Regions from separate parts of the Homo sapiens genome. Here regions 2, 3, 4 and 5 are each linked to region 1. Evidence: promoter capture Hi-C in 16 types of primary human blood cells and fetal thymus (Javierre and others, 2016). All regions are on one chromosome and are shown on one strand. The core of a region is centred on a gene start or on the middle of the fragment in contact, and the rest is flanking DNA. Distances in the headings are between cores, read along the strand shown. Region 1 holds the start of SH2D6 (SH2 domain containing 6). Region 2 holds the start of MIR4779 (microRNA 4779). Region 3 overlaps PTCD3 (pentatricopeptide repeat domain 3). Region 4 overlaps POLR1A (RNA polymerase I subunit A). Region 5 overlaps POLR1A (RNA polymerase I subunit A).

Region 1 (2,578 bases), core at 43-2,542:
ACCGCATGCTAGTGCCAGTTGTGAGTCCTTTCACATGCAAACAGCTATCTCAGCTCTTTTTTTTTTTTTTTTTTTTTTTGAGACAGAGTCTGGCTCTGTTGCCCAGGCTGGAGTGCAGTGGCACCATCTCGGCTCACTGCAAACTCCGCCTCCTGAGTTCAAGCAATTCTCCTGCCTCAGCCTCCCGAGTAGCTGGGATTACAGGCACGTGCCACCACGCCCGGGTAATTTTTTCTATTTTTAGTAGAGATGGGGTTTCGACATGTTGGCCAGGCTGGTCTTGAACCCCTGACCTCAGGTGATCTGCTTGCCTCAGCCTCCCAAAATGCTAGGATTACAGGCGTGAGCCACTGCGCCCGGCCATACCCTCCCTTTTGAGGTGAGGCTCTTGAAGGCCCAGACCTTTCCTCCAGTGCTTTGAGGTCTGATCCTGATGATAATAACACCTCACTCATAACCTGGACTTCACAGTTTACAAAACACCCCTCCTCCTCACCCCCTCCCAAACTCGGTTTATTTTTGTCGTTAAAGCAGAGTTGTAGGCCAGGGTGGACCATAGGTTTTCTTGGTCACGAGAGACTTCCTCCCTCCCTGGGCTCCCCTCTGTAGTGGTGCCAAATAAAAATCTGATCAGTCAAGCCTGTAAGGTAACTAGCGCTAATGTGCAGAGCCAGTCCTGGGCAGGCCTGTTCATTATTTTGCACACTCTTACACCGAAAGGGCCCAGGACCCTCGCCTGACCCAGCCTTGCCTGCCAGGCCTGGGCTGGGTCTCCCAGCCCAAATTCTCACAAGAGGGCCGACTCCGGCCAGAGCGCGCCCCTCTTTGTGCCTCGGTTTGCCCACCTAGAGGTCAGTCCCGCAGGCGTGGCGGGTACATCTCAGGGTCGGCAGAAAGTGCCACCGGGAGCCCAGCCGGAGTTGAGGGCCTCGCGCCGGGCCCACTGTCCAGATCCAGGGCTCACGAGAAAAACGAGGACGCAGGAGAGCCACACGCCAGGACGCGTGTAAGGCCCCAACCCGGCCCCAGCCTGGGCCCTAGACCCCTAAGAACTACAAATCCCAGCAGGCAGTGGGCCGCGGGGCGGGGTCTCGGAAGCTGCGGCCTGTGGTGCCTTTGCTGAGCCCAGGTCCGGAGGGCCCTCGGGGACGGGAGCACCACAACAGACCCCCGGACACACTTACACACACAGTCTCACAAACACACAGTCACACACGCACACACACACACGCGCGCGCGCGCGCCTTTTGGCCCCTCCCCTACAAACTACAAATCCCGGCAGGCAGCGGGCCGTTGGGCGGGGCCTTGGGTGCTGATCCGGACGCAAAGATTGCGCCAGCCAGGGTGGGATCCCGGTAGCTAGGTGGGGGCTACCCTGCTGGGGAAGAGATGGCCTTCTCTCCTCGCAAACCCAGCTCCCCACCCCTGCACGCGCCCCTCTGCCCTGGAGTCGCTGGTCCGAGCCCTCCTTCTCTGCGAACCTGAGCCCCGCCCTGCCCTCCCTACGAGGTTGGGGCCGTGGGAGATGAAGATGGTGGGTGGGGGGTTGGGCCCACAGCCTGCTAAGCAGGCAGAGTGGCCTCCTGAACCCTTCCTCCATCGCCTAGAGCAAACTCCCATTCCTGGAAGGAGGAGCAGCCCAGACCCTGAGACTGGACTAGGTCTGTTAGGGTCCCTGTGTGGCCGGCAGGACTCGTGGTGAAGCCCGGGGAAGGCCTGGGTCCTCCAGGTCAGGGATGTAGGTCCCAGGGTGTGCAGGCCGCGGTATCTGACCATCGTCGGCGCCCTGCGCCCAGGCATCAATTTTACATGGCAGAGTCAAGGTGAGGTTAGGAGGCTGCCAGGAGGTAATAACCAGGGCGCTCGCATTCAGCATCCTCTCTCTCAAAGCACTCTCCTCACACCTCAGGGTCAAATGTCAGAGCTCTTGTCCTAACTTCCCAGGTTGCCCAAGGAGCTTCTGAGGCGCTACAGAAGGGACTTACCCAGACCCTTCAGTGCAAGCCAGGAACTCAGGGTCCGGCCTGCTCGGTAGGATGAGCTGTGCTGAGGCCCTACTTCATCCACCCTTCTGGGCCAGGGCAGCCTCTTTCCAGAGGCCTCTTCTCAGCTGATTTCTGGCTCCCAAGCGGGAGACTCAGGTTACACCTGTATCGGGAGCAGTGACACCACAGTGGCCAGCAACACATTGGACTTTCTGTCTCCAACTCCATTTTCAGCTTTTACACTTCCTGATCTGGGCATATACTGCTACATACTGGATCATCAAGGAAGGAGGAAAATACCTAGTCAATGAAGGTTTAGCCATGACCTTGTAAGTCAGTGAGATTTCATTCTTGTGTGGTTAGTTCGAGGCGAGCTACTTCCTAGAAATATTTCATTTGATCTCTAAACACCTAGAAACAGCTCCAAAAGGGATATTCAAAGTAGATTGCCCAGATTCTCTTGATAGCAGATGTGGGGTTCATATTAACTGGTCGCGTGGTCTCTAAGCATGCCTATTTCTGCCTGGGAAGTTCTCAAAGGTTTGGTTTTCTGAGTGTTTCTGTTAAAACAATCAGCCTTTTGTTGAGTAGCC
Region 2 (2,578 bases), core at 28-2,527, 780 kb after region 1:
ATGAAAAGGCAGTGAGGCACATGCTGGAGATTACCAGGAGAATCTGAGTGAGGCAGTAGAAAAATGAAATATGAGAAGAGTCAGATCAAGGGCCCATGGTAAGCAGTTTAGATTTTATTTTGAATGTGATGCGATGTCTCCAAAGAGCATGACCTCATGTTTGCCTTTTAAAAAGCCTTTTACTAAATGTCTTACTGCTTTTACTATTCCCTCCTAGAGTAAAGAATGGACTCTAGGAGGGAACAGTAAAAGCAGTAAGACATTTAAGAAGATGGGGTTGGCTGGGCACGGTGGCTCGTGCCTATATTCCCAGCATTTTGGGAGGCAGAAGTGGGAGGATCATTTGAGCCCAGGAGTTCGAGACCAGCCTGGCCAACACAGAGAGACTCCGTCTCTACAAAAATTTTTTAAAAAATTAGCCAGGGATGGTGGCACATGCCTGTGGTCCCAGCTACTCAGGAGGCTGAGGTAAGAGGATTGCTTGCGCTCAGGAGGTCAAGGCTGCAGTGAGCCATGACTGTGCCACTGCACTCCAGCCTGGGTGACAAAGTGAGACTCCGTATCCAAAAAAAAAAAAAGAAAGATGGGGTTTAATAAAGTGGAAAGGATCTTGACAAGTGAGATATTCTGGATACGTTGATACAATCAAATACGACGAGGCTAGAGAGTCACCTGCTTGGGGATTAAAGTTCTGAGAGTTGATGTAATCTCAAATTAGAGAGTCTATAAAGAGACAGGAAGAGATGAGAAGGTGTATATTTCGAGGTACAAAGCAGAAGCAGACTCAGTAAAGGAAAACAAGAGAGATGGGACCCAAAATATTACTTGAGAGAAGCCAAAAGTACAAAGAGCCTCATAAAGCAGCAATGTCAAATGCTACAGAATTAAGGAGATGGTGAGAATAAACCAAAGAATTTTACAAGACAGCAATTTCAAGAAGCTTAGACATCTTGATTCAGAGCTATAAAAGGGTTCATTTTTTATTACCAAGTTTTAATTAGTTTTCTTAATTCCCAAATGGGATCCCAAAAAGTTGACTCTGAATTAACTGAAAAGGAGGTCATCCAGGTGGGCCTGGTCTAATCACATAAGCCTTTTAAATCTGGGTCTAGAGAGGAAAGACCAAAGTAAAAGAAATTTGGAAGTCAGAGAGGCAAGCTCCTGGTAGCCTGCACGAAAGCAAACATCAATGTTATGAATGGCCTCTAGAGGCCTTGAGGCAAGGAACTGTAGGCAGGCTGTAGAAGCTGGGAGCAGTGGCTGGCAAGAGGCAGCAAGAAAAGAAGTACTTCAGTCCTGTAACTGCAAGGGACTGAATTCTGCCAACAAACTGCATGAGCCTGGAAGAGGACCCTGATCTCCAAATGAGAACCACAGCATGGCTAATACTTTGCAGCCTTATGTGACCTGGAGCGGAGAACACAGATCATCCGTGCCCAGACTTCTATCCTACAGAACCCGTAAGGTCATTCATGGGTGTTGTTTTAAGCTGCTAAATTTGTGGTATTTGTTACGCAGCAATAGAAAACTAACACAGGTTCGTTCCACTTTCCTATGGAAGGGGCTGCTTCTGTTACCTAGCAGCAAATAGGAAGAGAAGCGAACTTGAAAAAACAAAGCTTGACTTTTATGATCTCTAACTCACTATTCCTAGGGATTCTGTTCAATTACTGCTTGAGTCACAGTACTTGGTTTGCTATCTACATTTTGCCAAAATATCAACTTCCTGAAAATCATGAGCAGTGGAAACAGGCTTTTTAATTTTCAATTTTAGAAAGTAACTTTGGCAATTACGCAAAACTAGAAGTAACTGGGTATTTAGGCTCCTTGAATGTCAAAGTAGTCCCAGCGCCTGGAGACACAGATCCCTGCCCTAATCTCAGAAATGAGCCACAAGGTCATGACTCCTGTCTTTCCTTGAAGACCAGGAGTTTCAGCTCCACAAATGAAAATCTTTCGCTTTTGTTTGGATTAAGAATAACTCAGAAGTGTTCTCAGCTGCGAAAAGAAAGGCACTCCCTCCCAGATAATTACAACCTTGACCCCTAAAATGTGGACTCTCGCTAGAAGTCCAGGCACCTCCTTATTAAGGATGCAACAAGCCGCCGCTCCGCTCGTCCTGACGGGAACTGTAGTTCTCGCCCGTCGACCTTCAGCACTGAAAACCTATCGCGCGCCCAACCGGCGACCCAGACGCCAGCAGCCAGGATTGGTCCTGGACGGGGGCAGCGCGGCCCTGATTGGACTACATGCCCACGAAGCCGCGCCTCCCGCTACTCTCCACACCCCACCCCGCTGCTGCAATAACCTCAAGTCATCCCAGTCCGGCGAACTCCCTGGTGGCTGCCTAGCTGCCCGCCCGGGCCTCTCCCGACGAGGGTGGCCCTGAGGCTCGCCTTTGTCCTGGAGGCTAGGCAGCGACCAAGGCTCCCCCGTTTTTCGCTGACGGTTCTAGTTCAGCCTCCTCACGCGCCTCCGGGAGCCCCAGTGCTCACCTGGGCGGCGGCGGTCACACCCGATAACTGACAGGCCCGCAGCATCTCGGTCAAGCGGACGGCGCTGCTGGTGGACTCGAGCT
Region 3 (2,578 bases), core at 29-2,528, 710 kb after region 1:
TCAGGGTGTTTTATTTGTTGGCAGCAACCAGTATTTCATAGTAAGAACCATAACTTAACTTTCCTGTGGGTAGATTTTGGAGTTATTTCATGGAGATTTTTACTAGTCCAGACTCTGCAGTGCAGGTGTCTTTTGTGCACTTGACCAGGTGTTGTTACAGGATTAATTTTTAATGGTATAATTGCTTAATTAAAATAATATTGTAATAAATTTCACAGAACTTGGGATTTGTCTCCCCCCCATTTCTTATAACTTACTTGCTGTCAACCAATAATATGTTGAATCAACATTATTTTCACAAGACACTCTACTGTTGTTATTTATTTGTGAACCACTGGCTGACAGGGTATCAGAGTGATACTTACTACTTGCATATTTTCAGTGCTCATCTCTCAGAGATCTAGAACTTGCCTACCAAGTACATGGCCTTTTAAAAACCGGAGACAACTGGAAATTCATTGGACCTGATCAACATCGTAATTTCTATTAGTAAGTGTGTTGGAAACATATCCTTTTGCATGAGTTACCAGATTCTGCAAGTGGGAGGCTGTTGATGTCCCTTCATACCTCACCTCTGGTTTCAGGCAACATGCCAATGATCTAATAGGACATGTTAATTGAGCACTTAGGAATTAAAGCAGTGGTAAAACTGCCAGATTTGAAAGACTAGTTTGTGTCCTTTAAGGGTTTTTTTTTTTTTTTTTTTGCAACACTGTAAAATCCACATATCTTTTTCCTCTACCCCCTCTCATTTTACATTTTCAAATTGTTATAGCAGGGTGAGCCCTGAAGATTTCCTTTCACCTCCCTTGCTTTTGTATTCAAAGATGAAGATACTGGAACCTAGAGATACTCCCTAAATGGGTTTGCTTTTAGGCAGATAAGAACATGAATTTAAGAAGGCAGCATGTTAACAGATGTGTGAGAATTGTTTTCTGTGTATCCAAATCCTTGTTTCACATTGAATGTTTTTAAAATGAATTTGAAATTCAGTATCTATTCACCATGACCTAAGAGTATACAGAGGAAACAGTTAGAAATGACCAGTTGAGGGTAGGGTGTTTAATTGAGAAGTCAGCACACACTGGCAGCTCTTAAACCAAATATTGGCTCGTTTAACTTGAAACTGTAAGTATTTTGAAATTCTTTGTAACATATAATATGCTATAATTTCAACCCTTATTTCCCCTGTTGTTAGACATAGGGACTTTAGACTAAACATACTTTTTGCCTTCATCACAGTTCCAAGTTCTTCGATTTGATTTGTCTAATGGAACAAATTGATGTTACCTTGAAGTGGTATGAGGACCTGATACCTTCAGTAAGATGGTTCATTACTTGTTATTTATCATTCTAGATGAATTGGGTTTCTGCAGATTAATGCTTTAAAAATGTGTTTCTCTTAATCAGGCCTACTTTCCCCACTCCCAAACAATGATACATCTTCTCCAAGCATTGGATGTGGCCAATCGGCTAGAAGTGATTCCTAAAATTTGGAAAGGTCAGTTTTACTTTTTATGTGTCCAGGTGCATCTCACCTCAATATCCTCTACTTTGATAATGAATGTGCTAACATTACTGTTAGGGATGAAAACTTCCATTTTGACTGAACCAAATGTGTTAGTTGAGATGTACTTCAAGGTCATGTGCTCATGTTGCATGTTGGCTATCAGGAGAAAATTTTGTTGAAAATGACTTAAGTCAGTCCCTTCGTGACATAGGAATGAGCTGAGTTTTGTGCACCTGTTGCGGGATATGACCCAAAGAAAATAAATGCTAATGGCGTGGCAGACCCTAAATCTGAATAAAGGTCTTTGACCCGGAAGCCTGTGTAATTCCTCTGTGCCAGTGTTGCCTCACTTCACTAACCACAGTCAGTGATGATTCTGTTTCCAAGTAATAGCCATGAGCATCACGCATCACGGGTGTGTGTGTCTTATGTGTATAACTTGGCTGCAAAATGAAATAGATATTCTGTATCTTTCACTAGGTGACTACTGTATCATAAAGTCAGTAGGCTCTAGTCCCGCCCTCCTGCTTCACACGACTGCTCTAATGAGTGATAAAAGTATATCAAATTCCCAAGTGCTATAAAACAACGTCTTAACCACGTGGAGCTGGTGGCTGCTCCCATGTAGTGCACATGCCGTGATGAACACGTCACTGGAGCAAGGCCCAGGCATTGGCTTTTACATTTGTTCCACTGTGAATCCTGGTGGGTTTCTGGAATCCTGGGATAAGCCTAGAATAAATAACAGCAACTTATTTTTACCTACCAAAAAATAGGTTGACAGTGAACAAAAGTGTGTTGGTTTTACATAACAATGATCACTCCTTGTTCCTTTCTTGTTTCAAGATAGTAAAGAATATGGTCATACTTTCCGCAGTGACCTGAGAGAAGAGATCCTGATGCTCATGGCAAGGGACAAGCACCCACCAGAGGTAGGCCTGAAACTCACCAGCCAGTATATCCTCCCATACTGAGGTCTTCTTAAGGCTAGCTTCCCTGGTTTTATCTGCCATTTTGGAGAGTTCTGCTACCCAAACCCATATTTGAGTGATGATACATCTAAACATA
Region 4 (2,578 bases), core at 1-2,500, 660 kb after region 1:
CCACCTTGTGATGGGCCTGGCAGACAGCGGGACTGTCGCAGCGGCTGGAGTCTGAGAACCCGGACTGTCTACCCAAGGCTGCCTATTTGCATCCAGAGAGTACTTTAGAGCTGGGAAGGATCTTGATGACCTCAGCAAGCTTCCTGGGTGCCCAATTCACCTTTGTACCCACTGAACACCTACTAATTAACCCGGCACACAGATGGGGCTCAGGAAATGTTAGTTGAAACTGTCCTATTCTGAGAGGAATTTCCACTCTGCAATACTGCCTTCCTGACCCCAATGCTGGAGACATTAACGTGTCCAAAATAGAGCTGGCAACATGAGCTCTAGTACTGTGACCCAAAAGGGACACTCTTAAAGCCTGAGGGAAGTAGGCTATTCTTTCTAGAGCTGCGAGAGCTGGTAGCCCGGAACAGCCTAGGTGTGAAATCTCACCACAAATCACATGCACTTTATAGCAGACACTAGTATAAGGAAGTGACTCAACTAGGGTCACCTGGCATGGTCGTTCGGTGTAGAAGCTAGACCAGAACCCACACCTTTCCATGCTCAGACCCATGTGTGTCCCCCTAATGTTCCTAGGTGCCCCCTAAGCCCAGAGCTCACACTAAGGCTGCTGCCAGCTGCACAGAACATCCCAGGAAGCATCTCCCAGACCCAGTGTCTACATCCACAGCTCACAGAGTTAGCACTAAGCATGTGTGCTCATCACATCAGCAACAGAGCAGCCCTGACCTCATCTGTAGTGGGTGTGGCCACTTCCTCTGGCAACTTCTGTTCTTGGGCCATCAATGCCAGAAGTTTTCGAATCAGAACTACATCCTTCATGACAGCCTGCAAGTTCACCGTCTGGCCATTAGTAAACATCTGGTCTCCTAGGCGACTGACTGGGCGATACCTGCAGGGGGACATACGGAATAAATGAATGTTTAGTGTGAGGAAAGGGTCATGTTCTTCAGCCTCTCACCCATGCCTACTGTAGGGAGCACACCCCACCATGCTCAAAACAACCAACCTTCCTAACCAACATTCCGGCTGGGTGTGGTGGCTTAAGCCTGTAATCCCAGTACTTTGGGAAGCCATGGCAGGTGGATCACTGGAGGTCAGGAGTTCGAGACCAGCCTGGCCAACATGGTGAAACCCCATCTCTATGTAAAATACAAAAATTATTTGGGTGTGGTGGTGCGTGCCTGTAATCCCAGCTACTCAGGAGGCTGAGGTAGGAGAATCACTTGAACCCAGGAGGCAGAGGTTGCAGTAAGTCAAGGTCATGCCACTGCACTCCAGCCTGGGAGACAGTGCAAGACTCCACTTCAAAACAAACAAACAAAAACAACCAACATTCCTATTGCGTTCACAACAAACGGGAAGGAAAGCAAGCCCTCCCACCACCTGCACCTGGAGCGGAACTGCAGCTTTGTCTCTCAGTGCCCTTGGCCCTTTCACCTCTCCTAGAGGTCACATTTCAGTTCCTTAGTACGCTTTTTTTCAGGTGAAATAAGTTAATTAAAGGGTATTACCTTGAGGGCGGCACCACCAAGAAATCTAGAAAGAACACACTGGGATTGAATCTGGATTCCATACCATCATCATCCATTCCCGAAAAAAGGTAGTTCAGAAAGAATCCTGCGTTGGAAAGAAATAAACCAAGAAGACCATTTAAATCTATCACTAAGGGCATGGGAGGACAACCATAAAAATATTACTGAGTGAGGAAAAAACAGAATACAAGATAATATGTAGAGTTAAGGTCACAGTTTTCTTTTTTGAGAAAAGGTCTCACTCCTGTCGCCCAGGCTGCTGTGCAGTGGTGCGATCATGACTCACTGCAGCCTTGATCTCCCAGGCTTAGGCAATCCTGCCACCTCAGCCTTCCAAGTAGTTGGGACTACAGGTGCGTGCTATCATGTCCAGCTAATTTTTGTATTTTTTTTTTTAAGAGATGAGGTTTTGCTTGGTTGCCCAGGCTGGTCTCGAACTCCTGGGCTCAATTGATCCACCTGCCTCAGCCTCCCATATTGCTGTGATTGGAGGCATGAGCCAACGTGCCTGGCCTCATTTTTCTTTATAAAAACAAAAAATAGCCCCTGTGTACATGACAGTTTGTATGCAGGGGATATGATAGCATAAAAATGGGTACTACAGGGACAATAGCTCTTAAACCAGGGACTGAGATGGGCAAGGATGGGGAAGAAACTTCACTTGTTTTTAATCACCCTCCTGGACTATTAAAACACAGACAGCACACACATCATTACTTTGATCTTCATAAAAAATATGTTGAATAAAAAAATTTTTTTTTAAGTTAGCCTCCTCCCACCCCTAACAGTTACTGCCAAGAAAGGATCTTCTGTGGATCAAAGCTTTATTTCAGGTTTCTGGTTACTTTAAAAAATGCCTAGAGAAAAAGATTAAAATGTACTAGGGCCTGCCACAGAAGCAATCATACTAACTCCAGTGCTTTTTTTTTTTTCTGATACCTCTTTAACAACATGTTCATTTGTAAGCGCTTATTACACAGAGGTTATAGTCAGCGTTCCACAACATACTCTCACAAGGGCTTGAATATACTGCG
Region 5 (2,578 bases), core at 46-2,545, 620 kb after region 1:
AGGCAGAATGAATGGCTGGTGAGTAAGTGGTAGGCATGTGACCAGTGTGCCAGTTTTCCTGGAGGTGCAATTTGCCCTTCTATGGTTTTGCCAAGAGCAGGGGAACTAACGGCCCACAGTGACTGCCTTCTCAAGGTTGTGCAGCTCACCTGAATGTAGCAACAGAAAGGGAACAGGAGGGGCAGGGGCAGAGAAGCCTCCCGTCCCACGTAAATAATTACAAACAGAGCACATGACCCCTGGCGGTTTCTGAACGCGCCTGGCAACAGCTCCACCACCTGCTGTTTGGAAAGTCAGATTCACAGAAGCTACAATTACAGACTGTCAGCTGGGTCTTTTCATGGCTGGGGACCGGAGGCCAAAACTTACAGCCCCTAACTCCTAGCTCAGTGCTCTTTCCACTTCATCTCCCCTGCCACCTGCCAGACAATTTACACAAACAGCCCATGTGATGGGTGCCAGTGCAGAGATCTGGGGGGCCTTCTACGCTTGTATATCTCTACCTAGGGAACCATCTGTCTCGTGCTGTTTTTCTCCAGGCTCTGTCAAGGGTCTCATGACTCCACAGCTGGGAGAAGGGAGGGTGGGGGCAAAGAGAAAGAAAAAGAGGGTGGCAGAGAGGAAGGAAGGGGGAGGGATGGGAGAAAGGAAGGAGAAAAAGCTTCTTGGGGGTTGGCTGCTCTTTTGAAAGTGCACTCACACTTCCTCCCATTTCCTGTGGGCGGCCAGAGGCCTGAACACAGCTGCTCTGCTGCCTGGGGCCTGACAAAGGGAGTCCAGACCGCACCCAGCTCATCCACTGCCCCATCTTTTAGCTCTGCCTAACCCCTCAGCCCCATTCTGCTGAGTCCTTGAGGCCACCTCCACCAAAAGCTACTGCGCATGGCTTTATTTATCACAGATTTTCAAGTTCACAAGCAAAACACAGGGAGGAGTTGAAAAAGTACTTCACGGCTGGGAACAAGCCAGGGCTGTCCCTCATCAGGAAGAAGTCTTAAAAAGTGATTTCCTATTTTCAATTCCATGAGGTAATATAAGTAAAAAGAACCCCAGCATGGGCTGGCGCCAGCCTCATGCCGACCTACCTGCTGGGCTGGCCTGGGCCTCCTGTGAACAGAACTGGGGCAAAACATCTAACTCCGTCCACCCTTAGTTATTCTCTAGAGGCCATGAAATCTGAATTCCCATTTCCCAGAAAACCACTGCCAGGCCAGCACAAACGCCCCCTGCACTTGGTAGTTATGTTCCTCGCTGTTAATTAAGGAGCTGGCAGGCGGGTGCACACAGCACTCCCCTGCCACTCTGCCCAGTGCCCAGATAGCACAGAGGACCACTCGACAGAAGGAATGTTCTCAGCCCAGGCTGGCACCAACGCAGGTGCTCCTGAGGCCCAGCCAACAACAACTTCACCCAGGGCTCGTGAACTGGGGCAGGAAGCACCTGGCCAGTGACCCCCGTCCAAAGGACTGAGTTCACATCCAAGCTCCTCCACCCCAAGACCCACCATCCCAAATGCCACCTGCACAGAGGGCTGGCTCGAGGCCAGGCCCCATAAGGTGAGAGGGCAGAGGGCTGAGGGCAGAAAAGTCGTACTGTGTTGCCCACGCCTGCCCCCGTGACTCAGCGACGAATGGGCATGGCTCAGTATGTGTTTGTGGGATGGCTGAGTGCAGGGAGCTTTCTGCTTCTGCTCTGTCATTGCTTCTCTATCTGAGCAGCTCCCAGAAGACCAAGAACTGGTCTAGATTAGAGGCAGTGGTCAGTGGCCTGTGGCCAGATCCTGCAACAGATGAGAACCATCTGGGCCTTACTGGGCTTTTAAAAACACATGAATTAGTTGCTGATGTTTAAAAGTCAGGAGACCTCAATTATATAAAAGCAAAGGCAAGTAAACAAGTGACCCAAGAAAGAAAAAAACGTAGGGGGTGGGAAGCTTGTTTTCTTTCTTTTTAAATCAAAAGATGTGGCCCCCCGGGCCTCCATTCCTGCATAGTAACAGGTGCCCCTTGAGACAGGTTCCACACTCTTCAGTCTGCCGGGGGCCTCCAAGCCTGCTTCACTGGCCTGTCACCTGCTGGGCTATGCAGCCTTTTTGTGTTCACACTTCACCGTCTAGGGTTAGCTGGTGAGTCAAAAATGCTTCGTGGGCTCTTCCAGTCTTGCCCCAGTCCCCAAAAAGCCCATCCTCCTGCTCCCCGGAACTCAGCATTGTGGCCTCTGCTTTTCAAATATCTAACAGTAACTTGAACTTGAGACAAAAGTTCCTTTTCCCTACTGGACAGGAACTCGGGACAGGAACTCGAATTTCTCTGGAGGCAATCCTGGTTATAGAATGGAGATCTAACAGCAGCGTGCCACCCGCACATTGTTCATTATTCACAGAATCTAAATGCATCAGGAACCACATTATACTGCCTGCAGTAACACCCTAGCAAACATTAACAGCATGTGCTGCTCCGACACCACAGAAGCACCGCTTTGATGGTGCTCCCTTCTCTTTACCACACCCACATTTCCATGTCTTAATGCCTGCAAGCCCCAGAAGACAACAATCCTGACGTCAACCCAAGAGAAGAAA

What was found. The method cuts DNA at HindIII sites, captures the fragments that hold promoters and counts their contacts. A CHiCAGO score of 5 or more calls a contact.
Region 2: a fragment that was not itself captured here is called in contact with the fragment with the promoter of SH2D6 in region 1 in 3 of 17 cell types (fetal thymus, activated CD4 T cells and monocytes); the score reaches 6.6 in fetal thymus.
Region 3: a contact is called between a fragment that was not itself captured here and the fragment with the promoter of SH2D6 in region 1, in 1 of 17 cell types (monocytes). The highest score is 5.1, in monocytes.
Region 4: a fragment that was not itself captured here is called in contact with the fragment with the promoter of SH2D6 in region 1 in 1 of 17 cell types (monocytes); the score reaches 6.1 in monocytes.
Region 5: a contact is called between a fragment that was not itself captured here and the fragment with the promoter of SH2D6 in region 1, in 1 of 17 cell types (M0 macrophages). The highest score is 5.3, in M0 macrophages.

Annotation. Positions count from the first base shown.
Region 1 is chr2:85,417,422-85,419,999 of GRCh38, forward strand. It overlaps SH2D6 (SH2 domain containing 6), which reads left to right and starts at 1,293. Exons shown (of 24, transcript NM_001394463.1): 1 at 1,293-1,509; 2 at 1,608-1,823. It also overlaps a transcript of CAPG not described here. RefSeq lists enhancers at 634-743, 740-1,275, 754-913. The HindIII fragment of the contact is 6,915 bases long and covers 1-2,578 here.
Region 2 is chr2:86,192,843-86,195,420 of GRCh38, forward strand. It overlaps IMMT (inner membrane mitochondrial protein), which reads right to left. Exons shown (of 15, transcript NM_006839.3): 1 at 2,496-2,578. The coding sequence starts at 2,540. It overlaps MIR4779 (microRNA 4779), which reads right to left and starts at 266; the gene lies at 184-266. RefSeq lists enhancers at 2,121-2,170, 2,291-2,470, 2,491-2,578. The HindIII fragment of the contact is 679 bases long and covers 939-1,617 here.
Region 3 is chr2:86,131,936-86,134,513 of GRCh38, forward strand. It overlaps PTCD3 (pentatricopeptide repeat domain 3), which reads left to right. Exons shown (of 24, transcript NM_017952.6): 17 at 383-489; 18 at 1,243-1,321; 19 at 1,411-1,501; 20 at 2,357-2,442. Among named protein-coding and RNA genes, the nearest start is that of SNORD94, 2.6 kb to the right of the region's middle. The HindIII fragment of the contact is 3,229 bases long and covers 1-2,578 here.
Region 4 is chr2:86,080,078-86,082,655 of GRCh38, forward strand. It overlaps POLR1A (RNA polymerase I subunit A), which reads right to left. Exons shown (of 34, transcript NM_015425.6): 8 at 1,524-1,629; 9 at 739-901. Among named protein-coding and RNA genes, the nearest start is that of POLR1A, 25 kb to the right of the region's middle. The HindIII fragment of the contact is 2,227 bases long and covers 138-2,364 here.
Region 5 is chr2:86,035,893-86,038,470 of GRCh38, forward strand. The region is part of intron 27 of POLR1A (RNA polymerase I subunit A); the gene reads right to left. Among named protein-coding and RNA genes, the nearest start is that of POLR1A, 69 kb to the right of the region's middle. RefSeq lists an enhancer at 27-86 and a silencer at 757-806. The HindIII fragment of the contact is 1,272 bases long and covers 660-1,931 here.